Linked DNA regions of Homo sapiens: region 1 is linked to region 2. Evidence: promoter capture Hi-C in human tissues and cell types (Jung and others, 2019). All regions are on one chromosome and are shown on one strand. The core of a region is centred on a gene start or on the middle of the fragment in contact, and the rest is flanking DNA. Distances in the headings are between cores, read along the strand shown.

What was found. Contacts are between HindIII fragments. The study calls those that stand out against the background at their distance.
Region 1: a fragment that was not itself captured here is called in contact with the fragment with the promoter of SSTR1 in region 2 in 2 of the 25 tissues and cell types used here (heart right ventricle and small bowel).

What each region holds. Positions count from the first base shown.
Region 1 is chr14:38,101,427-38,107,031 of GRCh38, reverse strand. No RefSeq gene overlaps it. Among named protein-coding and RNA genes, the nearest start is that of SSTR1, 100 kb to the left of the region's middle. The HindIII fragment of the contact is 3,749 bases long and covers 376-4,124 here.
Region 2 is chr14:38,204,013-38,209,888 of GRCh38, reverse strand. It overlaps SSTR1 (somatostatin receptor 1), which reads right to left and starts at 1,985. Exons shown (of 3, transcript NM_001049.3): 1 at 1,785-1,985; 2 at 1,280-1,446; 3 at 1-843. The coding sequence starts at 499. LOC124903303 (a long non-coding RNA gene) reads left to right here and starts at 602. Exons shown (of 2, transcript XR_007064117.1): 1 at 602-807; 2 at 1,613-2,674. RefSeq lists enhancers at 1-538, 1,522-2,183. The HindIII fragment of the contact is 11,122 bases long and covers 1-2,983 here.

The DNA of each region.
Region 1 (5,605 bases), core at 1,001-3,500, 100 kb after region 2:
AGGTTAAAAATGCAGGGTCCAAAGATAAGCAACATCGCAATAGCCACCAAGGGTCCCAAGAAGGGGAGAAGCCAGGACATCCATTGGTTGACAATACTCCAAGATCCTGTGTCTTGGAGCTCTTGTGCCCAGCGCTGTATCCGGTCTCAAAGCTCCTTAACTTTCCCAGTGACAATTTCGAATTGATTAACGAAATAGCAGCATTTTCTCCTAGAAAAAGATAAGTTCCACTTCTTTCGGCTGTTAATAAATCTAATGCTCTCCGATTTTGAAGGGTTACTGCTGCTAAAGAGTTAAGCTGGCTTTGTAAGGTGACCAGCAAATCTGCGACTCATTCCATATCATCATTTAACTCTTGTGATAATTTGTAATAGAACTGGGGGGGAGGTGGTAATGCCTCCAATGCTGGTTCCTAGTCCTCCTAGTATCCCAGCCCTGATAATGAATGGCAGAACTTGTGCCCATTTGTAGAAGATTTGGGTAGAAGAAAATTCTGTAACTCCTGATCAGTATAGATAGTCATAGGGGGCTCCAAAAAGGAGAGAAAGCATAGACTTTTGAAGAAACCGTTTAAGCAGCGGTAAGCTGAGGAACCACAAAAAAAAAGATTCCTGATGGTAAGCAAGAGAGTCGTGGAGGTAGGGTAATTCATGTTTTGCACTGGAAGGCAGCTGCATCAATGGTTGTGCTAAACTTTACACACGTGAGATTTGGTGTATGTGTTATTTCTAGATTTGAGACTAAAGGGCCCACCAAGCCTGTGGTGTTTGTTCTTAGTTTGGTGGCATTCCAATGTTCGGGAACAGGAACTGGGACATATGGTTTAAAGCGTAAGGGGAGGCACATCCAGCAGTCAGTTGGATTCTGGCTGGAGGCCTTGTGAATTTCGGTAAGGGTGACATTAAATAAATTTAGCAAGCAGGAGTGAGTGACTAGTCCCTGTGCTTTTAGGTCTTTGACGATCTTTTGTAACCCTTGTTGGGCTTCTGGTCTGAGGGGGTACTGCCTTTGATAAGGAAAGGAGGTAGGATCTTTTAATTTAACTTGAACTGGATAAGCATTTTTTTGCTAGTCCGTATTGTCCTTCCTCTGCTCAGACTTCAGGATTAACTTCCTCATGGAGTAGAGGGCACAAACAGGTATTCCTTCTCCTATATTTAAGTATATAATGACCCCTGCTTTAGCTAATATGTCCCTCCCTAGTAAGGAAGTAGGGCTCTCAGGCATAATAAGAAAGGCATGTGAGAAAAATAAGGTTCCCCAGTCACAACTTAGGGGGTGGGAGAAATACCTAGTGACTGGCTGTCCTAGGACCCCTTTGATGGTGACAGATCTGGAGGACAGTTGTCCAGGACAGAAGAGTAAAACTGAGAAGGCCTCACCAGTGTCCAGGAGGAAGTTAGTTTCCTGACCTTCAATGGTTAAGCTTACCCGAGGCTCTGTGAGGGTGATGGCATGGGCTGGCACCTGCCCCAGGCACCCTCAGTCCTGTTGTTGGCCCATCTGGTTAGTGGCCTCTGGCTCAGAGGACCTTCACCCTTGGGGGCAGTGTGCATTCCAGTGATTCCCCCTGGCACAAGCGACATGGATGAGGGTGCGACTTATTGTTGTTTGGGCAGTCCTTTTTGAAGTACCCCTGTGAGCCGCACTGATATCAAGTCCTGTTAGGTGGGTTGCCTGCCCAGCCCTTCTTTCTTTCAGAGTCACCAAAGTTCATCTGCCTGAGGGCCGTGACTAAGGCAATGGCCTTTCTCTTGTCTCGTCTATCTCGTTCAACCTGCTTCTCCTGATCCCTATTATAAAACACCAAAGCTGCCAAATTCAATAGAGTTTCCAAATTTTTCTCAGCACACGAGTCAGACTTCTGAAGTTTTTTTTAGGGTAGGCAGCGGCAAATTGGAGGACCAAGGTTGGAACAGTGCTTTTCGTACCCAAATTTTCTGTCCCCTATTTGCCCTCCTGAGAATATTCATTGACCTTTGGACTTGAATCGGGGGAGCTATTGTCTATTATATTGTTTTTGGCACATAAGTCTGACTGCTTAAAGTGGAGAAGTTCTACAGTTCTGATTGCTGATCCCAGACAGGAAAGGTGGTAATTAAAGTAGCCTCTGCAATCTGGAGTAAGTTTATGGCAACAAAAGGAAAAATGTCCTAGGCCTTCTATCAGCCACTGACATGCCTTTTGATGTCCCACGTAGTGCCTAGGGTATAGGTTATGAGGGACAGGTCCTGTATAAGTATATTGATACCAATTTGCATAAGAATAAGCCTGGGGGCACCATGGGCAAGGGTCTTTGGATTGTCACCCCACTCGACTTAGGCTCCTAGCCAAAATATTCTTAGACTCAGAGGTAGGAAAGATCCTAGAGGATAGGGCCTGAAGAAAGTCTTCTCTGAGGACGTTAGGACCCAGGAGGCGTGGGTCAGAATAGGCAGGGAATGCACACATGGGTGGCTGTGGAGTAGAAGCTTCTTGCTGTGCCATGATCTCGACCAGGTCAGTGCCAAGAGTTCAGGATGACAGTTTTCCACCTCTAGCCAGCCCTCAGCTTTTCCCAGGAAAGGTAGAGAAAGGTGGAACTGGTTCCAGGCAAACCAATGCTCCCAGACCAGAGGGCTGGGGGTTGTTAGAGAGCCCTTTCCCAGAAACCCTCAAACCCGTCTTAAGTCTGGCAGCCACACTTGTTGCTTTTAAATGGCTGACAGGCGCCCTGTGTTTTCCTCCAATTTCTAGTGAGAAGATAGAAAGAATAGCAAGAGAAAGGGGTCCAATGTTACTCACCACTTTGGAGAAATCCCAGATGGGCTCCCAGAAAGGAGACGAGAAGTCTTCTTCCATCAAAGGTTTTTCTCGATCAAGAGGTTCGTGGTCTCATGGGCTTCAAGGAATGAAGCTGTGGGCCACAGTGGCAAGTGTTACAGCTCGAGTAGAGAAATGCACAGACCCAAAAAGTGTACAGCTGCAAGATTTATTAAAGCAAAGGCAAAAGTAAAGTAAAAATGAAAGTAAAGCTTCCATGCAGTGGATGGGAACCCAGAAGGGTTGCCCAGAGCGTCTTGTCTTGATGTTGATGGCTGCTCACTGATCGGGGTAGTGGTTGTTGCTGAATATTGGGATGGCTGTGGCAATTTCTTATCATAAGGCATCAATAAAATTTGACACATCAATTGACTTAACCTTTCAGGAAAGGTTTCTCTGTTGCATGTGACACTGTTTGATAGCATTTTACCCACAATAGAACTTCTTTCAAATTTGGAATCTATCTTCTGAAACCCTGTTTCTGCTTTATCAGCTAATTTTATGGAATATTCTAAATCCTTTGTTGTCATTTCAACAATATTCACAGCATCTTCACCAGGAAAAATTCCATCTCAAGAAACTACTTTCTTTGCTCATAGCAAGAAAGCAACTCTTCATTCATTCAAGTTTTATCATGAGATTGAAGCAATTCTGACACATATTCAGGCTCCACTTCTAATTCTGGTCCTCTTGCTATTTCCACCACTCTGCAGTTACTTTCTCCATTGAAGTCTTGAATGCCTTCATGTCATCCATTAGGGCTGAAACCAACTTTTTCAAAACTTTTTTTTTTTTTACTATACTTTAACTTTTAGGGTACATGTGCACAACGTGCAGGTTAGTTACATATGTATACATGCGCATGTTGGTGTGCTGCACCCATCAACTCGTCATTTAACATTAGGAATATCTCCTAATGCTATCCCTCCCTGCTCCCCGCACCCCACAACAGTCCCCGGTGTGCGATGTTCCCCTTCCTGTGTCCATGTGTTCTCATTGTTCAACTCCCACCTATGAGTGAGAACATGTGGTGTTTGGTTTTTTGTCCTTGCAATAGTATGCTGAGAATGATGGTTTCCAGCTTCATCCATGTCCCTACAAAGGACATGAACTCATCCTTTTTTATGGCTGCATAATATTCCATGGTGTATATGTGCCACATTTTCTTAATCCAGTCTATCATTTATGGACATTTGGGTTGGTTCCAGGTCTTTGCTATTGTGAATAGTGCCGCAATAAACATACGTGTGCATGTGTCTTTATAGCAGCATGATTTATAATCCTTTGGGTATATACCCAGTAATGAGATGGCTGGGTCAGATGGTATTTCTAGTTCCAGATCCCTGAGGAATAGCCACACTGACTTTCACAATGGTTGAACTAGTTTACAGTCCCACCAACAGTGTAAAAGTGTTCCTATTTCTCCACCTCCTCTCCAGCACCTTTTGTTTCCTGACTTTTTAATGATTGCCATTCTAACTGGTGTGAGATGGTATCTCATTGTGGTTTTGATTTGCATTTCTCTGATGGCCAGTGATGATGAGCATTTTTTCATGTGTCTTTTGGCTGCATAAATGTCTTCTTTTGAGAAGTGTCTGTTCATATCCTTTGCCCACTTTTTGATGGGGCTGTTGGTTTTTTTCTTGTAGATTTGTTTGAGTTCATTCTAGATTCTGGATATTAGCCCTTCGTCAGATGAGTAGATTGCAAAAATTTTCTCCCATTCTGTAGGTTGCCTGTTCACTCTGATGGTAGTTTCTTTTGCTGTGCAGAAGCTCTTTAGTTTAATTAGATCCCGTTTGTCAATTTTGGCTTTTGTTGCCATTGCTTTTGGTGTTTTCGACATGAAGTCCTTGCCAAACTTCTATTAAGGTTGACATTTTGACCTCCTCTCATAAATCATGAACATTCTCAATGGCATTTAGAATGATTAATCCTTTCCAGAAGGTTTTCAATTTACTTTTCCTATATCTATCAGAGGAACTACTATTTATGGCAGCTGTAGCCTTATAAAATGTATTTCTTAAATAATAAAACTTGAAAGTCAAAATTACTCCTTGAATCCATGGGCTGCAGAATGGATATTGTGTTCGGAGGCATGAAAACAAGATAAATTTCCTTGTACATCTCCATCAGAGATCCTGGGGGACAAGGTGCATTGTCAGTGAGCAGTAATATTTTGAAAGGAATTATTTTTTTTTCTGAGCAGCAGGTCTCAACAAGGGACTTAAAATAATCAGTTAACCATGCTCCTAACATATGTGCTGTCATCCAGGCTTTGTCACGCTATTGATAGAGCACAGCAGAGTAGATTTAGCATAATTGTTAAGGGTCCTAAGGTTAGCAGAATGGTAAATAAGCCTTGGCTCACTTAAACTTAAAGTCACTAGCTGCATTATCCCCTAAGAAGAGAGTCAGCCTGTCCTTTGAAGCTTTGAAGGCTTGCATTGACATCTCCTCTCTAGCTATGAACATCCTAGATGGCATCTTCTTCTAATAGAATGCTATTATGCTGTTTTGTTTACATTGAACATCCATTGTTTATTGTAGCTAACTGCATCTATTACTTTAGCTAGATCTTCTGGTTAACTTGCTGCAGCTACAACATCAGCACTGGCTACTTCACCTTTCACTTTTATGTTATGGAGATGACTTCTGTCCTTAAACTTAACAAACCAACCTCTGCTGTCTTCCAACTTTTCTTCTGCAACTTCCTCAACTTTCCTTCTGAAGGTTGCTCAAATAAATTACAGCCTTGGCTACTTCTCTTTTTAAATTCCTTTGGCTTCTCATTCAAATGCAG
Region 2 (5,876 bases), core at 736-3,235:
GGGCCGCCTTGATGGGATGCACCACGGCCACGTAGCGGTCCACGCTGAGCACAGTCAGACAGTAGATGCTGGTGAACATGTTGACCGCGTCCACGCTGAGCACGAGGCGGCAGAGCAGCGCACCGAAGGGCCAGTGGCGCAACAACGTGGAGGTGACTAGGAAGGGCACGCTGAGCATGAGCAGCTCATCAGCAATGGCCAGATTTAGGATGTAGATGTTGGTGGCCGTCTTCATCTTGGCATAGCGCAGGATCACGTAGATGACCATAGAGTTCCCACACAGCCCCACCAGGCACACCACGGAGTAGATGAAAGAGATCAGGATGGCGCTGCCCTGGCCCTCGCTCAAGGTCCCGTTCTGGGACGCATTTCGCCCTGGCTCCTCCATGCCGTCCGCAGCGCCGGCCCCGGGGCCCCTGCTGCCGCCGCCTTCGCCGCAGCTGCCCGGGCTGGGGCTAGGAGAGGAGGAAGGAGAGGAGGCGGTGCCATTGGGGAACATCCCAGCTGAGGGGGGCCAGTGGGGCTGCCAGGGCTGGGGCTTTCTCCTCGCGCACCCGCCGCCTGCGCCCTCCCTCCCCACCCGACCGCTTGCCTGCAGCCCACAGCCGCCCAGCGCCTCCGGGTAGAGCGCAACCGCTGCGGGGAGCGCGGCTCCTACCGGCGCCGGCGGGGCGCACAGCCCAGCGGTTGCCTGGGCTCTGCAGTTTGCAGCTCCGGGGTGCCCGGGCACAGGCGACCGTGGAGAGGAGAGGCCAGGATGTGGGAGCACCGCACGGCACAGCCATTAACTGGCGCGGCTCTGGACTGGTAAATGATTAATAGGCACCACCAGCGCGTCAGCAGCTACGAAAAAAGGGGGTGGGGTGGAGAAAGGGAGGAGAGCACATAGGTGGCTTGTCCCCCCCGCCCCCCATTTTTTTCCTTCCCAGTCCTGCACTCTGCTCAACTTTAGTGGCTCCTTCCGGGGTTCCCTCGCAGCACCATCTGCCTCTTGCTCTCAGAGGAACCAAGAGAGTTCCTCGGCCTTACTGGAGGGCGGGTGGGAACCAAAGGTATAGATTCTGTCTCATTCCACTCCTCTCCTACCCAAAGCAAAGACTCAAACGGATCCATGAACATGGATGTCTGGAGTTCATCTCAGTTTCCCTCCATTGCTGCCCTTTTCTCTGGAGACCCCAGCTTCTCTCCCGTCCCGCAGTCCAGAACCCTAAATTCCCTCTTCCCACCCTCGCTTGCCTTGCAGCTCAGACCCGCCAGGGAAGTTCCGGGCCCTCCTTACCCAAAGTGCGCAACCTCCAGACTGAGACGTAGATGGTCGGTGCAAAGTGCATGTGCGGTCTGTTAGCAGGTTGACGATCTTCGCGCAGACCAACTCCCTTCTTTGCGCCTGGCCCCAGCACAGGTGCCCACGCAATTACTCTTAGAATCGCGGAAACTGGCCCTAAGCTGCGAGCGTTATGAGAAGAAAGGACAACCACCGTGCGTTAGGGGCTTCTGCGCTATAACACAGCAGGCAGCTTAGGCTATTGGGAGTGTTCAGGGACCTGAGTGAACCATTCGCAAATCTCTTAATAAAGCTCGTAGCGCTCAGAGCCCCCCGTGTCTCCCACAGGAATATCGACTGCAGAAACGAGGACGCGCAGCTGGGAGCTCTGGAGGAGCTTGAGACTCCCTCCAGAAACGTGCCAGGCGCGGTGTTGGGAATCCACCTAGGTGTTCACTCGGGAAAGATAAGGCTGCGCCGCTTGGAAGGGCTCCACCCGCGTCCCTGCTGTACTTTGTACCCTGGAGAGTTGGCGGGTTCTGGCAGACGAGAGTTTAAAGGCTTGGGCGGGCGGGGACGCCAGCTCTTCTAAATCCAGGTGAGGAGCTGCCGCCGTGCGATGACCAGACCTGTCACCAACCCCAGGAACGGCAGGGCGACATTCGAGTTTTTCCGGGAAGAGCTAGGATGTCAGCTCTTTCTGAGGCTTGATTTGTGAGCTGGCTCTGGGTCACGTGCCCAAACCATTAGGAGATATCAATGTAGGCAAGCCTGAAGCTCACTGACTTCATTTAAGAATCAAAACGGTTTTCCCGTAAGAAAGAATGTATGTTCCGTTATCAGGATTTTAAACGAACCCTGGGACTTACCACCATTCTTACTCTAGGGTCTCTTTGGCTTTCCAACTGTTCCTGTGGAAGGAAGAATCACACTCCATGCAACTTCCCTGTTCCTTTTCATAAACGTTGCTTTGCTCGGTAAGATCCCTGCAAGCCTTTATTTGAAACTAGCCTGTTCACAGGAAGAGTGACCCGCAGCAGCTTAGTGCTCTGCCTCCTTCAAGCTTTGCTGTCTCCAGTTTTTCCTTAGTTTCTCCTTCTCCTCAACCAGGCTGTGCCCGCTGTACTGTAAGTCTCAGTTTTCCTCCTCTCAGTAGAGTTTACTCCAAGGAGAGGCTAAACTCCTCATGGAGGCTATCTGTACCGGTCCAGAATGAAGAAATGGATGCAGAAATTAAAAACAAAAAAGTATATTTCCTAATGCCCTGTTGCTTTATCCAGGTAATCACTTACATATACTGCATGTGTTTTAGTTCCCAAAACTAATTGTCTTGAACAGGAAAGAATAACTTCTGTAGTGTGTTGATGATAGCAATCAAAGACTAAAATAAATGACAGACTTTCATAGGAATGTGTGCAATTATTAATGAGGAATGTGCTAGGATGGAATTTGAAATTTCATACGGCTGAAACTGTTTTAACCCATTATTTTACCTGAACAAATTGCCTTCTTTAAAGTGGAATGTACAATTGGTGTTTAGTTATATTTATTTTTCCTTTACAAATACAGCACATATGGAGAGAAAATAAATGTTCATTAAGTTAAAAGAAAAGAGAGTGGGTATTGTCCCAGAATCCCAGAAGAGCATTTTACTAGCCAAGCCTCATATAATGCCTTAGATGCCTCTGCCAATCACTGACTAAAGACACCTGACTATCTGTACCTCTGGGAGCTTGGATTTCAACAGTCATTATTTAGATGCCTTGGCTTTGATCATGGTTGCTCTTTGGGAAGTGTGTGATGGGAGTCAGTGAAAAACAGCTCTGTTGTTCAGAATTTCATTAAATTCACTTTCAGCTCATCTTAGGGAAAATTTCTCTCAATTTTGTGGCCTCATATACAAAAGAAGAAAACTTAAGACCTGACGTGAGAATGCTTTTTATTTTTATTTTTTTGAGATGCCACTTTTCACCCACTAGGATGGCTATAAGAACATTTTTAAAAACAAAAAATAAACGTTAGTGAGAATGTGGAGAAATTAGAACACTCATACATTGCTGGTGGGAATAAAAAATGATGCAGCAACTTCAGAAAAAAATTTTGGCAATTGCTTAAAAAGTTTAAAAGTTTAAAAGAATGACCATATGAGCCAGCAATTCCACTTCTATTTACTCCTCAAAATTGAAAACAGGTGTTTAATCAAAAACTTGTGCATGAACATTCATAGCAGCACTATTCATAATAGCCAAAAATTAGAAACAATCCAAATATCCATCAATTGCTGAATTAATAAATTGTGGTATATCCATACAATGGAATAGTATTCAACCATAAAAAGAAATGAAGTACTAATACCTGCTTCAGCGTAGACGAAGCTTGAAAACACTATGCAAAGGGAAAGAAGCCAGACACAAAAGGCCACGTGTGGCATGATTCCATTTATATGACATGCCCAGGGCAGGCAATACATACAGACAAGGTACGTTAGTGGTTGCCAGGGGCTGGGGGCAGAGGGGAAAGAGGAAGGACTGCTTAATGGGTATGAGCTTTCTTTTTTGAGTGGTGAAAATGTTCTGGAATTAGATAGTGGTGATGATTGCATAACATTGTGAATATGCTAAAAATCCCTGAATTGTACACTTCAAAAATGACTAAAATTATAAATTTTATATTATGGGAGTTTTACTTCAATTTTAAAAAGCATGAGAGAAAGACAAAGAGAGGGATTGAGATGGATATAAGCTATGCAGCATTATTAAATCTTTTCAGTTATGTATTTATTTTTAAATTATTATTATTATTATTATTATTATTATTATTATTATTATTTTGAGACAGGGTTTTGCTCTATCACCCAGGCTGGAGTGTAGTGGCACAATCACAGCTCACTGTAGCCTTGATGTCTCAGGCTCAAGTGATCCTCCCACCTTAGCCTCTGGAGTAGCTGGGGACTACAGGTGTGCCCCACGATGCCTGGCTAATTTTTAAGGTTTTTGTAGAGATGGGGTCTTCCTATCTTGCACAGACTGGTGTGGAATTCCTAGCTCAAGCAATTTTCCTGTCTCAGCCTCACAAAGTGCTGGTATTACCCGTGTGAGCCACCGTGCTCAGCCCAGTCATGTATTTCTAATTATTGTATTTGTGAACTAATCTATGAACAACAAAAACAAACAAACAAACAAAAAGGGTGGCATTTCTGGGCCACCAGGAAGGTGGATTGGGGTTGCAGCTATTTTCAAATTATATTAAAAGCAGGATCCCAGTTAGAGCGCTATCTTCCCCTCAGATCTCAATTTAATGTAAATATTTCCAAAGAAAAAGGAAAACTGATATGGGCATGAGATCACTTTAATTTGCAAAAAACGCAGCCAGTGAATAGTCAGGACTCAACAATCTTCTTGTCTTGTTAAAAACTTTTTAGGTTCACATGTCTAAAACCTTGAAAAGATTAGGAAGAGCTTGTTTTCTCCCTACAAGTTACCTGTCCTCCAGCCCTCTTTGGTTACCATCTTTCCTATGCCTCTGTGATATGAACATTTATAGATAGAAAAGAAGGAGATGTTTTCCAGAAAGGGGAAAATGAAATGTTCCAATTTAGGAAGTTGCAGATTCTTGAGCAGACTGATTTTCTTCCCTCACTGTAACTTTCTCCTACAAGCTATACTCTCCTGTGCTATCATGTACCAGGTGCACACTTTGATTATTATATTTATCACACTGTACTGTGGCTTTTTGTGTACTTGTCTGTACCCTCTTATAAATTTGTAAGCTTGTGGAGACCAGGGGCTTGCATTTTATTTATTTTTCTATCCCCAGCATCTAGTGCAGTACCTACAAAATTGCCCCAAATCACCTTGTTTTATTTTGTCAAGGCATCCCATGGATAGTACTTTCCTCTTTTCTAGATTATAAAATGTAGATGCAAAGAAATAAACTGTGAGCTCCTTATAAGTAGAGCTTTACTAGCTGAGGAATATCATCATGTGTATTAATTCCTTATACACTTAAATTATTCTAAATAATTTCAATTTGCATGTCCTATATCAACAATTGTCATACTGATGACTCATTCATTGATCATTCTTGGTCTTAAATTTCTCAGCAGAGAAAGGGCTCTGGAAAATGGGTAGTACATGCATTAGTAGCTAATGATGGTTATTTAATAGTGTCATGCAGTGTGAAAGTCATCATACATGGAAGATCATTTCCTTTTAATAGCAGTTTTGAGCCTCAGTTCGTTTGGTGGAATAGTAATTATCAGCACCTCAACTTCTGCTTATGTCAAAATCATTACTAATGTGGTTTTTCCAATCAGAGCCTGTGTTGATCCTTAAATGAGCATCTCTAATTCATACCAATGATAAAGGGCTGGCTGGAGCCAGGGATTAAAGGGTACACTTCCTGGAACATTGTCTGCAGCAGCAGAATCAGTGTCAGGTTTACAAACACCTGTCTGGACAGATGGGACCAAATTGAGTATAAGGGGCTAACACCACTCAGCAATATGGCCTACAGCAAAGGTTGTGTCACTTAAGGACCATCTGCCACTAAGCAGTTAACATGATGTCAGTCTAACGAGAAAGTTACCAGAGCACAAATGTGGCTATAGGGC